2 separate regions of the Homo sapiens genome follow, and region 2 is linked to region 1. The links are contacts of gene promoters, found by promoter capture Hi-C in human tissues and cell types (Jung and others, 2019). All regions are on one chromosome and are shown on one strand. The core of a region is centred on a gene start or on the middle of the fragment in contact, and the rest is flanking DNA. Distances in the headings are between cores, read along the strand shown.

Evidence for each region. Contacts are between HindIII fragments. The study calls those that stand out against the background at their distance.
Region 2: the fragment with the promoter of UTS2R here is called in contact with the fragment with the promoter of LRRC45 in region 1 in 1 of the 25 tissues and cell types used here (pancreas).

The regions. Positions count from the first base shown.
Region 1 is chr17:82,019,551-82,026,527 of GRCh38, reverse strand. It overlaps LRRC45 (leucine rich repeat containing 45), which reads right to left and starts at 3,223. Exons shown (of 17, transcript NM_144999.4): 1 at 2,665-3,223; 2 at 2,189-2,250; 3 at 1,765-1,835; 4 at 1,350-1,528; 5 at 1,021-1,149. The coding sequence starts at 2,884. CENPX (centromere protein X) reads left to right here and starts at 3,650. Exons shown (of 5, transcript NM_001271006.2): 1 at 3,650-3,702; 2 at 6,619-6,670; 3 at 6,834-6,887. The coding sequence starts at 3,667. RefSeq lists enhancers at 2,250-3,173, 4,723-5,395 and a silencer at 2,910-3,959. The HindIII fragment of the contact is 20,224 bases long and covers 1-6,977 here.
Region 2 is chr17:82,369,365-82,376,341 of GRCh38, reverse strand. UTS2R (urotensin 2 receptor) reads right to left here and starts at 4,577. Exons shown (of 3, transcript NM_018949.3): 1 at 4,295-4,577; 2 at 3,559-3,744; 3 at 1-2,099. The coding sequence starts at 2,017. The coding sequence ends at 848. The HindIII fragment of the contact is 34,629 bases long and covers 1-6,977 here.

The DNA of each region.
Region 1 (6,977 bases), core at 1,974-4,473:
AGTAGCTGGTGGCCACCAGCCCTGCACCCAGCGGCTGGCTGCTTGGGAATCTATGCCGTGTGGGGCAGCGTCTCACCCGGCAAGTCAGGGGTGCCCCCTCAGTGCATGGGGGTGGAAGTGCTTTGTGGGGTTCGGGCTGTGAGCAAGAGCCGCCTGGTGTTGGGGAGCGCGTGCACATGTGGGGCAGAGGTGGTGGGAGCTGCTCCACCGCAAAAGGCAAGGGCCATCCTGGGGCATCTGGCCACCATCCCAAAGGTCAAGGGGCACTGCACAATGCTGAGGCAAATGCTGTGCCCAGCTCAGTTCTGGAAAGATCTGGGTAGCATGTGGCGAGGGGGCAGAGGTCAGGAGGGATGACAACAACCAGGGCAGTGCCGAGGCGAAGCCAGGGACGGCGCAGCTGGAGTCAGAGGCCAGGCAGAACCAGCAGGAGGGATGAGCCCTCAGCACAGGGGCTGGAAGAGGCTGCCGCTGTGCGCGGATTAGGGAGTACGGGGGGCCTGGCAAAGTCCCCAGCTGAGTCTGGGGCACTGGGGCCTGAGGCTGAGACATCAGCTGCAAGGATTCGGGGTCGCTGGTGGGAGGGAATGTGTGGAGGCCAGCACAAGCCAGGGGGCCCCACCTCACCTGACTCACATGCAGGGCCACAGACTCAGGGTGACCAGGGAGCCTTCCTGGCCAAGGCCAAGACCTGGGCCACCCGAAGCATCAGCAAAGCCACCAAGGCCAGGACTGTGAGCCACACGGCCTCAGCTTCCCCAGCTGTGAAACGGGCACCCTCCACTGCACAGGTCCTAAGAACTCAGCAAGTACACAGGGCGCCTCGGACAGTGCCCATGTGTGGCGAACGCCATTCAAGTGCCAAACAGGTGCCCCACGACCCCTCCGCTCCTTCCTGCTTCCCCTGGGCTCTCAGGCTGCTCTCCTCATCAGTTCCCGTCCTGAGCCCGGCACCCCGCCCTCGGTGGACAGGCCTCTGTCAAAGGCTCACGCGTCACTCCACACAGCCCTGCACCGTACCCACGGCTCTGAGGACGTCTCCAGGGATGTTGTTCCCAGCCAGGTCCAGTCTCCACAGGGTTCTGTTGCTGGGGAGACAGTTCATGAGGGCCCGGCCCCCCAGGAGGCCAACGTTATTCCAGCGCAGGTCTGGAAGGAAACCTGTAGTCACCAGACAGAATGCACCTGGCAGAGGGGGAGCTGGCCTGGCCGGGGTGCTTCCCTAGGGGGCACTGCCTTGCAGTCATCAACAGAGCAGGAGCACAGGCCAGTCCCCTAGCCCCTCACTTCCCAGAGCAGAGGCAGCCTCAGAGGGATGAGGGAGCCTGAGGGCGCCTGGGAGGCCTCACCCAGCTGCTGGAGGGTGGTGTTGCCCTTCAGGGCTAGGGCCAGCTCCTCCGCGCCCTTGTGACTGATCTGGTTGTTGCGGAGGTCCAGCCGCTGCAGGGCGCCGTTGGCCGCCAGGCCCCCGCAGAAGGTGGCGAAGGCATCGTCCCACGTGCCCAGGCTGTTCCACTCCAGCGTGAGGCTGCAGGAGGGGCAGAAGCCAGTGTTCACCTAGGGGACTGCCTAGCCCGTGGGGTCCAGGGCTTGGGGACGGGTGTGGGCTTGGGGTCTGATGGGCCGGAGCCTCTGCCTACCCCTGCCAACGTATGTGAAACATGGGCACCTGGCAATGGGGAACTCTTGGGCTGCAGAAGCATGTGCTCGGGGCCAATCCTCAACCACACAGAGACAGGGCCTGGGGTCGGGACCACCACCCACCTCTGAATGGACTTGTTCTGTTGGAGGAGTTTTCCCAGAGCCTCGGCCCCTGCAGCCCGAAGGTTGTTGCCCTAGGAGAGAAACAGGCCGGTAGTCACTCGCGTGCCCTGACTGGCTCTGAATTCCCGCCCATGCCCCAAGGGCCTTGGTCAGCCAGGGGACAAGCCTGGGGTGCACCCTGCAGCCTTCCTCAGCTCCTGGGCTCCCTGTCTTCAGGGGGCTTCCAAGGGCCGGCTTGTTTGCCAATGTGAACTCTTGCTCTGGAGATGGTCACACACAGGAGGCCATCAGAGAGCGGCCTGGGGACTCACAGACAGCTTCCAGCCACCTGCCCAGACCCCAGGCCCCCGAGACCTGGCATCTTCCACCTCTCCTCTTGCCCTTGGGTGGCACACTCGGACACTCAAGAGTGCAGGTATCTCACCTTTAAGTCCAGAAAGCGCAGCACGGTGTTGGCACACAGGCCTCGGAGCAGCAGTGTGGCCCCTGTGTAAGGGGGGCCGGCGGTCACTCTCTGCCCCTGCTGACCCCAAGGCCCTCCCCGTGGGCCCCTTTTCAGGGCAGCTCCCTAGACCCAGGAAGGGACAACTGTCCCGATGGTCTGGGTTGGCGCTGGCCAAGAGTCTCGCTGCGAAGTCATGTTTGAAACACCTGCAGCCCCTGCCAGGCACCAAGCCGGCTCTGCACGCGGGGAACCAGGTAAGACCGCGAATGTTAAGGCCTCTCCCCCGTCATACAGAGGAACTGCCCTCTACTCCCAGGTGCAGGAAGGGGCGCCCCTGCTCGCTTTAACTACGGCACAGAAATTGGAGAGCCTGGAGAGGAAGCGACCTCGGGCTGCCGAGGCAATGGTGTGGGCAGCTAAGGAGCAGAGGGATCCACCCCGCCGCGCCTGCCCACCTTCCTCGCTGAGCATGCAGTCACTCAGGACCAGCTCCGTGCACAGCGTCTCCCTCGGCAGCAGCTTGCCCAGGGCCCTGCAGGTCTCCACCGTCAGGCTTTGCGTGGCCAGGTCCAGCCGGCCCCTGGGAAGCTGGTGCAGCTGCTGCAGGACAGCCTCCTGGGGCTCGGCCCCACTCTCCCTGCACAGGCGGCTGTAGGAGCGCCGGAACTCCTCCATGACCCGCGGGGCCGGCAGGGCCTCCTCCGCATGCTCCCGCAGCTGCTGAAAGGGAGCCGCGCGGTGCGGAGCAGTCCCAGCGCCGGGTACAGGAGACGGGGCCTCCGCCGACCCGGGCGGAGAGCAATCCGAGTGGGCTCCGCGGGCGGGAGGTCCTGGGAGCGCGGGGCTGGGCGGTAGTCAAGGTCCGCTTTGGGCTGGGGCCCCGCAGTGCTTGGGGACCACCCGTGCAGGAAGCAGGCAGGTGCGTCGCGCGCCCCCACCCAGCCCTGCCCCGCCTGCAGCCCCGACCCCCGCCCTCGCGACAGCCGCGTCGGGGCCTCAGTATCCAGGAAGAACAAGGCGCGCCGGGAGAGGCCGCGGGAACTACAACTCCTAGCAGGCTCTGCGCAGGCAGCGCTTGGTGCGGGCCAATGAGAACAAAGGAACTGGCGCGCCTTTCGGGCCGCAAGCTGAGAGGGGGCAGCGCGCTCCAGGTTCATTGGCTAGGGGCATGAGGGTGGGGCCCCGGGAGGGCATGCTCCGGGCTCATTGGCTGAGGGTCGTGAGGGTGGTGCCCCGGGAGGGCGCGTTCCAAGTTCATTGGCTGCGGGACGTGAGGGAGGGGCTGCTGGAGGGCGCGCTCCGGGCTCATTGGCTGAGACGTGGGGGCGGGGCTCCGAGAGCAGGCGCTTCGGACTCATTGGCTAGGGGCGCGGGGCGGGGCTCCGGGGGCGCGCTCCGGTCTCATTGGCTGGAGGCGCGGGGCGGGGTTCCGGTGGGCGCGCGTTGAGGCTGCGGTCATGGAGGGAGCAGGAGCTGGATCCGGCTTCCGGAAGGTGAGGGCCGGAGGGCAGGGGCTAGGCAGGCGCGGACGCTCCGTCCCGACCTCACGCGTGACACTGTGAGGGCCAGACGCCAGCCCCCGCGCCGCCCCCTGTGCCTTTGAGGTTGGGCCCGTTCTCAGACTCCATCTCCGGCCGGGCCGCGCGCCCCGCGCCCTCGTGGGCTGGTGTCTCGCAGCTGGTAGGAGGGGGCGTGGAGCAGCCGGGGCTGCGGGAAGGTGGAGAGGGTCTGCAGAAACAGGCAGGGGTGGGCGCCGTCACGGCGGAGTCCAAGCCGGCGAAGAGAGAGGAGGAGCTGGGCCGCCGCCCTGCGCCCTGAGCCTGGGGTCTTTTGTTAAGGGGAGATGAGGCCCCAGGACGGGGACAGTGAGATCGTCCAGCCCGAGGAGCCGGCAGGACCTACCCCAGCCGCCAGGCACAGTGGTTTCCCTTTTGTTTGCTCCCCGGTGGGCGCCAGCACTGGGCTAGGAACGCGTGGTTTCTTCGGTGCTCCACGTTACACACACTTGACAGGGATTAACCCCACCTGCCAGTGGAGAAACTGAGGCACGGGGGCGTTAAGTGACTCAGCAGGGCTAGGGTCAGACCTAGGCCGTCTGAGCCAGGATCCGCCCAGGCTGGAGGGCGTGCCCTGCTCTTCCCTGTTCCTGGAAGTGGAGCTCTCTGGGGGTGCCATGTGCAGAGGACCCCATCGGTGCAGGCAGAGTGGTTTCTGAACCTTTCTACTGCTCTACCTGAAGGTTGGGGCACCGAGCTTCCTCGATGTCAGCAGGGCCTCGTGGGCCTCTGTGGCCTGGGAAGGGAGGGTCTCAGGCCCTTGTGAACCCATCCTGGAGGGAGGACTTCAGCCCTGTAGAAGCAGGGAGAATTCTGTTTCTCCTGAATCAGGCCCTTCTTTATCACCCAAGGCAGCAGGCGTGGGGGGCGGGGGGTGTCGGTGTGGGGAACTCTGGTGGTGGAGTTGAAGATTCTTGCCGGAATTCAGAAAGAGAAAGTCACTGAGGCTTGGGCCACCTCACTGGGTGGTTGTGAGAACACCAGGTTAAAGTAGCCAAAAGGCCACTGCCGGAGACGGGGCACTGGGTACACACCCCAGGAGGTCATGTGTTCTATCAAGCCCACCTGACAACTAGAGGCCCAGGGGCTCTGGCCAGAGCTGGAGTTGTGGTCATTGCAGAGAATGAGCGTGAGAATGACGGGGAGTGGGGGGCCCGTAGCCCTGGCGTGGCGCCCACGTCATGGGGCAAAGCTGGCTGTGTCCTAGGCACCCTCCACAACCGCCCCAGTGCTGGGCCTGCCTTCCGAGGCCACTGCCGATGTACGGGGAAGCCCCATGGATTGTCGAGGCAGACCTGGCATCCGCCACTCTCTGGCGTGGTCTTCCTTCCAAGGCCTGGGGCAGCAGTGTTGGGGGTCCCGGAGCAGGTGGGGAGATAGTGCCTTCTCTACCTTTTCTGGTGCCTTTCTGGTACTGCTGGCAGTAAGCAGCTGGAAGGACCAGCAGGTGGCACTGGGCTCATGCGGGTGGTGACTGGGACCCTGGCTAGGGAACAGCAAGGGCTCAGGACGAGCCGGGATGCTGGACAAGCCGGGATGCTGGACCCTGCTGCCCGCTGCTGGGGAACATTCTTCACCATCTGCATCTTAGGGCTTCACCCGTCCATGCTCTGCTTGTCACCTGCTGGACTGCTCTGGGTGAGGTGCTGTGACCTCCCTGTGGCCGATGCTGGTGGCCTGGCTGGTAGTTCACCCACCTGCCCTTTTAGTGGCCTGTTTCTGGGCTCCTGGGTGCCCACTGCCCCCACCCCCAGTCCTGGACTCTCCGTGCTGGCTCCTTTCCCGGCGGCTGTGGGCCGGTGCCTGGCCTGGGCCACCTCACTGAGTCTCATGGCTCCACCAGCCACCCAGGGCTGCCCTCCTGAGTCTCGGCCGCCACCACTGCAGCTGCCACCCACCACTCCTGTGTTCACACACAACGCATCCCAAACTGATCTCCTGTGTCCTAGCTCCAAAATGCACTTGCCCACGGCCCCCCATCTCCTCAGAGCAGTGCCGTCCTTTTGGGGTCTTGGCGTAGACTCCTCCCTTGTCCCCGTCCTCCATCCATCAGAAAGGCAGAAAGGCCCTGGCTCTGCAGCCCCCTCCCTTCCCCCCACCCCGGGCATGGCAGCCAGAGTGGTCCTTTCCAACGCCAGTGCTGCTTTCCACAAAAACCTAGAGAGGACTCCCAGTTTCCTGCCATGGAGACACGGAGAGCTCATCATGCCCTGGGCCCTCAGCGTCTGGCCCACCCCTCACTCCAGCCTGTGGACCACGCTGGCGCAGCCCCGCTCTGCGCTCCCAGGACACCAGCACCTCCTGCAGGATCATGAGCACCAGGGCAAGACGGGCGGAGCTGACCCAGCACCCAGAACAGAGTTGGCACAAGGAAGGCCCTACTGGTGGCACTCCCTCAGGCCAGCCCACCTGCAGAGCAGCCACCTCCAGCCTCCAGACCCAACCCGGGCTCTGCCTTCCCTGCCTCCCCACAAGGAGAGCAGAGCCATGGCCCTCTGCCGGGGATGGGAGTGCAAGATTAGGCCGGACTCGACGAGGCCTTTCTCCACTCTCTCCCTGGAGCCCCAGCAGCGGGGCCTGCTCCCGTGTCTGCGACCACTCACGCCGTAGGGAGGCTCCCAGCCCAGACCCTGTGCAGGGCCCTGGCGCCCCCTAGTGGAGCTGCCCACGCATCTGCTTCAGCTTCTGCCACCCGAAGCACTAGGCTGGCCCTTGTCCCCTGCCCTGGGAGAGGCTCAGGCACAGAGGGCGTCTCCAGCCAGAAGTCACAGCCACTGTCACCAGAATGGTCACCACCCTGGGGGGTGCGGGGGGGAGGGCGGGGCGTGGCGCTGACACCCCCCTCCCTTCTAGGAGCTGGTGAGCAGGCTGCTGCACCTGCACTTCAAGGATGACAAGACCAAAGGTGCGGGTGGGGGTGCGGGCGGGAGGTGGGTCCCCGTGTCTGTCCTCAGGGACCCTTTCCTGCAACTCTGCAGGGCCAAGGCCTCGGGAGGGCGGGGGTATGTCTGGAGCACCCAGCCAGAGCGGTGGGTGAGGGTCCCGCATAACCTCCCCCTGCCTTGCAGTGAGCGGGGACGCGCTGCAGCTCATGGTGGAGTTGCTGAAGGTCTTCGTTGTGGGTGAGCCCAGGGCCCACGCTCCCTCCGGGCACAGCATCCGGAATTTTGCGTTTTTCCAGCGGGAAAACCAAGACGTGTTTTCCCGTTTCC
Region 2 (6,977 bases), core at 3,328-5,827, 350 kb before region 1:
CCAAGCTGGGAGCTGGGGCAGGAAGTCTGTCCAGGAGGCAGTGAGGGGTGAGTGGGGCAGAGACTGCCAATGCTACTGTGAGGTGGGACCTGGATTCCCTTTCTGATCAGACCTGAGCCAGACGTGGATGAGAGGCCAGGAGGCCTGTAGGTGCGGCCACTGACCTTGTCCTCTTGCGTTCTGCACCCAAAGCCTCAGGCCTCTGCTGGGCAGTGCCTTCCCTGCTCCACCCCTCAGCTGGAGCCTCCCCTCCTGGCCACCTTCCCTGCCCCACATCAGGTGCCAGACCAGCCGCCTGCACAGGCCTCAAAGGCAGGTGCACCCTCTACCCCAGCCAGACCCACAGGCTCCCCCTTGAGCTGCCGTTGTCGTCCTGGGGATCCTGCCGGCCGATCCTCCCACACCTCAGATGTGGCGTCCCCCGCGCCTAGGCAGGACACGGAAGCCAGCTCAGGGTTGATTGTTCCAGTGGCAAAGCCACAAGGGATGGAGCCACACAGGCAGGAACAGGAGTCACAGGGCCGCTGGCTGAGAGGAGGAGGGTCCCGGGGGCGGCAGCCGCGCCATGGTCTCCACACGGGCCGGGCACTGGCGCCTGCTGCCCTCTGTGACGAAGCCATGGTCTCCAGAAGCCGGGACTGCGCTGGAGCCTCCTGGAGACCCTCAGGGAGGCGGGTGGGCGCTTCTGGGCATCACGGGAAGGGCGCTGAGGGGAAGCGAGCAGGATCTTTCCAGAAGGGGACGGAGGAGGGGCAGGGCCTGTGATTTGGGAGTTGGGGGGGCTCCCGGGAGTGGCTGGGGCTTTGGGGCGCGTCCCCGCCTGGACTCCAGCCGCCCCTCCGCGTGCTCACGCCGGGGCCCTGGGACCCTCGGGCGCAGGTCGGGCCGGGGCCGCTGGGGCCAGCACGAGGCTGTCAGTGGGCTGTGGGCTGCAGGAAGACAGGGAGCGGCCCGAACAGCGCTGGAAGCGGGCGCGGGGCTGCAGGGAGGGAACGGGCCCCCGGCCTCCCCCGCTGCCCGGGCCCCGCACGCGGCCGCGCAGGTGGTCGCGGTAGTTCCTGGTGAGCAGCGTGTAGAGGAAGGGGTTGGCGCAGCTGTTGCCGTAGGTGAGGCAGGTGGTCAGGTAGTTGACGATGCGCGCCGTCCGCGGCGCCAGCGGGGCCTGGTGGTACTGGGCGAGCAGCTGCCACAGCCAGAAGGGCAGGAAGCAGGCCCAGAAGAGCAGCACGATGCCCAGCACCAGGCGCAGCGCGCGCGCCCCCGGCCGCCGGGCCCGCTTGAAGGAGGCGCGCTGCGAGCGGCGGTAGGCGCGGGCCAGGCGCGCGTAGAGCAGCCCGATGAGCAGCCCGGGCCCCGCGATGCTGGTGGCGAAGAGCAGCGTCAGGTAGGCGCGGTGGGCGCGCGGGCCCCAGGCGGGCAGGCACAGGCTCTTGGGACCCCGGCGCACCAGCCGCATGGCCAGCATCACGGGCAGCGTCAGCAGCAGCGCCAGCAGCCAGGTGCCCAGCGCCAGCAGCTTGCGGTAGCCCTTGGGGCGCTGCACGGTGTCCAGCGGCCGCAGCACCGCAGCGTAGCGCTCGCTGCTCATGACGGTCAGCGTGAAGATGCTGGCGTGCATGGTCAGGAAGTCCAGGCCGAAGAGCACGCGGCAGCCCACGTCCCCGAAGTGCCACTCCTTGGTGACGTAGGTGGCCACGATGAAGGGGATGCTGAGCAGGTACAGCAGGTCGGCCAGCGCCAGGTTGACCACGTAGACGTACATGGAGGCCACCGCACGCAGGGAGCGGCAGGTGACCACCAGCGTGTAGGCGTTGCCCACCACGCCCACCACGCCCATGGCCGACAGCAGAGTCCCAATGGTGCCCGTGGCCACCAGGTCCTCCAGGGAGCTGGGCTCGGTCGGGCTGGCCCAGGAGCTGTTGAGGGTTGCGTTGGGGCCGCCAGGCGGCTCCGGCACAGAGCTGCCAGTGGCGGCCAGCCCAGGGAAGCTGCTCGGGGACTCGGGGGTCAGCGCCATCTCTGACCCCTCACGACGGGCTCAGGGCTGGGTGGACACTCCCTGAGATGGGGCGGGGGCCCCTGTGGGCAACCAGCTCAGCCTGTGGGGAAAGAAGCAAATCAGGCAACACCTTCCGCTCCCAGGAGGCCACTGTGATGGCCTCGTTCCCACAGAGTCACGTGGGCTCCCCAGTGCCCTCCAACTCTCGGGACTCTCTGGAAGCCACCAGCTCTGCAGGAGGACTCAAGAGCCACCAGACGAGCTGCCCCAACCCCCCTCCCCGACCCCCGCATGCCCCAGCAGGACCCCTGCCCCCCCCTCACTGTAGGTCCCATGGCCTCTGGGATGAACTGGGCTTTTCTGAAAGCCGGAACACAGGAGGGCAGCCCCTGGGGCAGAGGTCGGCAGTGGACAGAACTGGGAGTCCTGGGCTCTGCCCATTGCGCCCCCCCAGGCCTCACTTTCTTGTCTGTGCACAGGTGGGGCCCACTTACTCCTGAGTCCTTTCTCGTATTTATTTGACTTGTACATTTAAAAAAATGTTTTCTTTAGATTGCAAAACTAGTAGCTACTGACTTTAAAAGTCCAAATAGAAGAACATGTAAGGAGAGGAAGGCCTCTGCAATCTCCATTTCTCATACAGGGAAACGAATTCAAGATGGATTGCAGGCCTAAGTGTGAAAGGTTAAATCAGTCAGTCGAGGTTCTGGAAGAAAACGGGAATACTGGCATAACCTTGGATGGGAAAATATTTCTTAAAAATGAACAAAAAATACTTTCAATAAAAGACTAAGCAAATGGGTTTCATTAAAATTAAGAACTTTACCAAGAGAGCGAAATCATAAGCCACAGGCTAGGAGATCATCAGAAAACATATATCAGGCCAGTTGCAGTGGCTCACGCCTGTAATCCCAGCACTTTAGGAGGCCTAGGCAAGTGGATCACCTGAGGTCAGGAGTTCGAAACCGGCCTGGCCAACATCTCGAAACCCCGTCTCTACTAAAAATACAAAAATTAGTCGGGCATGGTGGCACACGCCTGTAATCCCAGCTGCTCGGGAGGCTGAGGCAGGAGAATTGTTTGAACTCGGGAGGTGGAAGTTGCAGTGAGCCAAGATTGAGATTGTGCCACCGCACTCCAGCCTGGGCAACAAAGTGAGACTTTGTCTCAGAGAAAAAAAAAAAGAAGAAACATAGACAAAAAGCTGGTAAGAAAAATATAGGGAAGAACTGCAAATTAGTAAGGAAAAGACAAACAACCCATTTGAAAAAAAGAGACCAAAACCGTGACCGGGGACTTCCTGAAAAGGACACCCACGCAGCCAACAAGCAGGGAAATGCCAGTCAGGGCCACAGGAGCCCCTGCGTGCTGACAAGGATGAACGCGTGAAAAGGCAGATATCCTTGTCAACAGGCGTGGGGGCTGTGGAGGAGCTGGCCCTGCCGTTTCCTGTTGCTGGGAACCTGGACTGTGCCGCCGCTTTGGAAAGCCATTGGCACGATTTGCAGAGTTGACCGCCTATACCTTCTCACCCGGCAATTCTACTCTCAGGTTAGTACCTTAGATAAAGGGCTGCCAACGTTCAGAAAATGACAAGCGTGCGAAAGTTCACGGCAGCTTGACTCCTAAGAAGCTGGAAACAGCTCAAATGTCCCCAGTGGACGGGGCAGGCAAACTGTGACATGAAGCCAGTGAAGGAGTCGCCGCTGGGGTCAGCAGCCTGGATGAAACAGCGCGGTGGTGGGCTGAAGAAACAAGACACAGGAGGCTGCCTGATTCCACGAGCCACGCTGAATTTAGGCCGAACACTCATGGCTGCGCAGGGAGCAGTCTTGGCTGGGGTGGGGAGTTGTCAACAGGTGGGGGCGCTGGGGGCCTTCCAGGGCCTGGAAATGTGCCCTGTCCGCCCTTTCCCACCAGGCCGAGCAGCTCCCAGCTCCATCTGTCCAGGGGACCCTCACCCCCTTGCTGCCCCCACCCAGGGCATTTCCAGAGCCCTCACCCAGGGGACGGCGCAGAAGCCGAGGGTGCACCGGGCTCCCCAGTTGTGCGCGAGCCCGAGTCACGGGCAGGGGGACAGCGGCCGCCGGGCCGCTAGGATTGCTCCAGGGTCGCTAGGGGGGAAGGGGAGGGGCCGAAAGTTCCACGGCACGGGAGAAGCCGCCTCGCTGGACCCCGCTCCCCTCGCCCAGGGTGGGTTCCCACCGCGAAACCCCGGCCCAGCCCTGCGGAGGGCCCCGAAGGGCACAGACCCGGCAGTCCCCGCGCGCTCCCGGTCACCCACCGAGGACCCACCTGCCTCCGGTCACTGAGCGGCCAGACCTGCCCGCCGAGCCTGGGGTCGCGCGTGGGGGCAGCCGCTCGCGGCTCCAAACTCCTCGCGCAGCGGGGCCGCGGGGAACTTTCCGAGGCGCGCTCCCCTGTCCCAGCGCAGAGGGGGCGCGAGGGGCTCCGCGGTGGCCTCGGCTTCCAGAGCACACGGCAGGGGCGCCCGCCAGTCCCGCCACCAAAGCCGCGCCCCCCGCCCCGCGCCGGGTCTCTGCGCCGCCGCCACCTGCCCGCCGCCAGCTGGGAATGCGCCGCGCCCCGCGCCAGGGCCCGGTATTAAAATAACCCCAGCGGGCAGCAGGCGCGCGGAGGGGACGGCGCCGGGTGTCTAGGGGGCGGCGCTGACCGCGCGGCGCCGGGAAGACGCGGGGGTCGCGGGGCCGCAGCGGGGTCGGCGGAGGGTCCCAGGCGGGTCTCGCGTCTGCGTCTGCGGAGCGAAGCTGCCTCCAGCCCGGCTGCCCCAAGGCTGACCCCGCAGCCCCTCTTGGGTTCTCCGCCTCCAGCGTTCACCCCTGCGCCCCTCACGCCCGTGTTTGCAGGGCACGGAGCCTGGGATTCTCCGTGTCCACCAAGCCCTGGACCCGCCCGCGCGCAGGTGGGGGGCAGGAACACCCCTAAACCCCGAGAGGGTCATAGAAAGGAGGTAAGGGAGGGAGGGAGTCACCCGCCCAGGCGGGGACGGGCTCTTTGGGGGCCTTGACCCCGCCCCTGTTGCGGGTCTCCCACAGATGCTCTTAGAAGCCCACGCAGCCTCTCCAGGCCTCGGCAGGGACTCGTGGTGGCCACATCCACGGAAGTGACGCTGGGAGCTGCAGGGCCCCGCGGGGTAGGAGGAAGGACCCCACAGCCTCACCCTCGAGCCCCTGAGCTGGGTGCTGGCCCCCACTCGGTTTCACTTGCTGCTCGGAGGTAGGATGTGGGCCTTCACTCATGCTGAACCCCTGAAAGAAAAAGACACAGAACATTAATAAATTAGACTAGAGGAGAGCTGGAGAGCTGTGAACACGGGGTCTAAAGGGCCCCCAGCGAGGAGCTGGCCTCGCCCACTCCACTCCGCCCGGGGCTCATCTGCTGCCTGAGGCCGCGGACCGGCCCCTAAAGCTGAAGGGGTTCTGCTGGGGGAGAGGAGGTGGCCAAGTGTGAATGGCCGAGAGGCTCCTGCAATCAGCTGGATCCGGGGGAGCCCCAGATGCCCACCAGTCCCCTCCGTGGGACGTTTGCCACGTGCTGGGGAGGCGAGGCTGGGCTGGAGAGGGCGGGAAAAGTCCCTCTGGTCTCCGAGCGTCCGCTGGACGGAGCAAGGGTCACACAATAAGACAGTTCATTCTCTGTGAGCTGAAAACAGCCGAACTGAAACCAAATACAGCTGCAGCTTCCGACCCGAAAGGGGAGCAGCTCATCCTGCCTGTGCGCGGGAGGAAAGGGGGTGGAAGGCTGCCTCCGACGTGATGGTTCTGTGAGAGCTGATTACTAAGCTGGAGTCTAGGGGCTAGGGCTGGGGAAAAGCACTCAGGACCCAGAATGCCTGCTCCAAGAATTAAATTTCCCGCAAGCCAGCTGCCGAAACGATCTGCTGTCACCTCAGCCAGTTCACCGAGTAGCTGCTGAAACGACCTGCCCTGACACGAACACCGGGTTTTTTATTTTTTATTTTATTTTTTTATTATTTATTTATTTATTTTTTTGAGATGGGGTCTCACTCTTTCACCCGGGCTGGAGTGCAGTGGTGCGATCTCGGCTCACTGCAACCTCGGCTCACTGCAACCTCCACCTCCCAGGCTCAAGCAATTCTCCTGCCTCAGCCTCCCAAGTAGCTGGGATTACAGGCACCCGCCACCACACCCAGCTAATTTTTGTGTTTGTAGTAGACGGGGTTTCATCATGTTGGCCGGGTAGGTCTCGAACTCCTGAGCTCAGGTGATCTGCCCACCTCAGCCTCCCAAAGTGCTAGGATTACAGGCGTGAGCCACCGTGCCTGGCCTCCAGTGCTGGTTTTACCACTGAGGCCACTCGCCTGAGCTTGCCAGCTCCCCCGAACTACCAGTGCCAACGGGCTTTCTTTCAAAGCAATAGATAACGTTTCTCTTTCCAAAAGAATCCCGATTTTCTTTTGTTCTTGAACATACCGAATTGAAATTCTTCCTAAAATTAAACATTAAACTTAAAGATTTGTCTGTATATTTGGACTTTGACAGTTGCTATGTATAAAATGCTTCAGCAAGGAAATAATAATCTGATTATTGTTTCCTTGCTGCTTCATATCTTATGTGATCCATAATTGATGGGGGAAAAATAGCCGATAGAAGCAGGTCCATATGTGACACAAGTATTGGAATTAGCAGACCAGGAGTTTCTGTTTTACAAAAACTGTTACAAATATAGTAAAGCAAGCAGAAGAACCTGGGCAACATGCATGAAAAGATGGAAATTTTCACCAGAAAATGGGAATGTATTTCTTTCTTTATTTGAGACAGGGTCTCGCTCTAAGGTCTAGCCTAGGCTCGCCCAGGCTGGAGTGCAGGGGTGTGATCATGGCTCACCGCAGCTTTCTTTGACTTCCTACACTCAAGCAATTCTCCTACCTCCCGAGTAGCTGGGACTACAGACATGCACCGCTACACTACACTTGGCTAATTTTTGTATTTTTTGT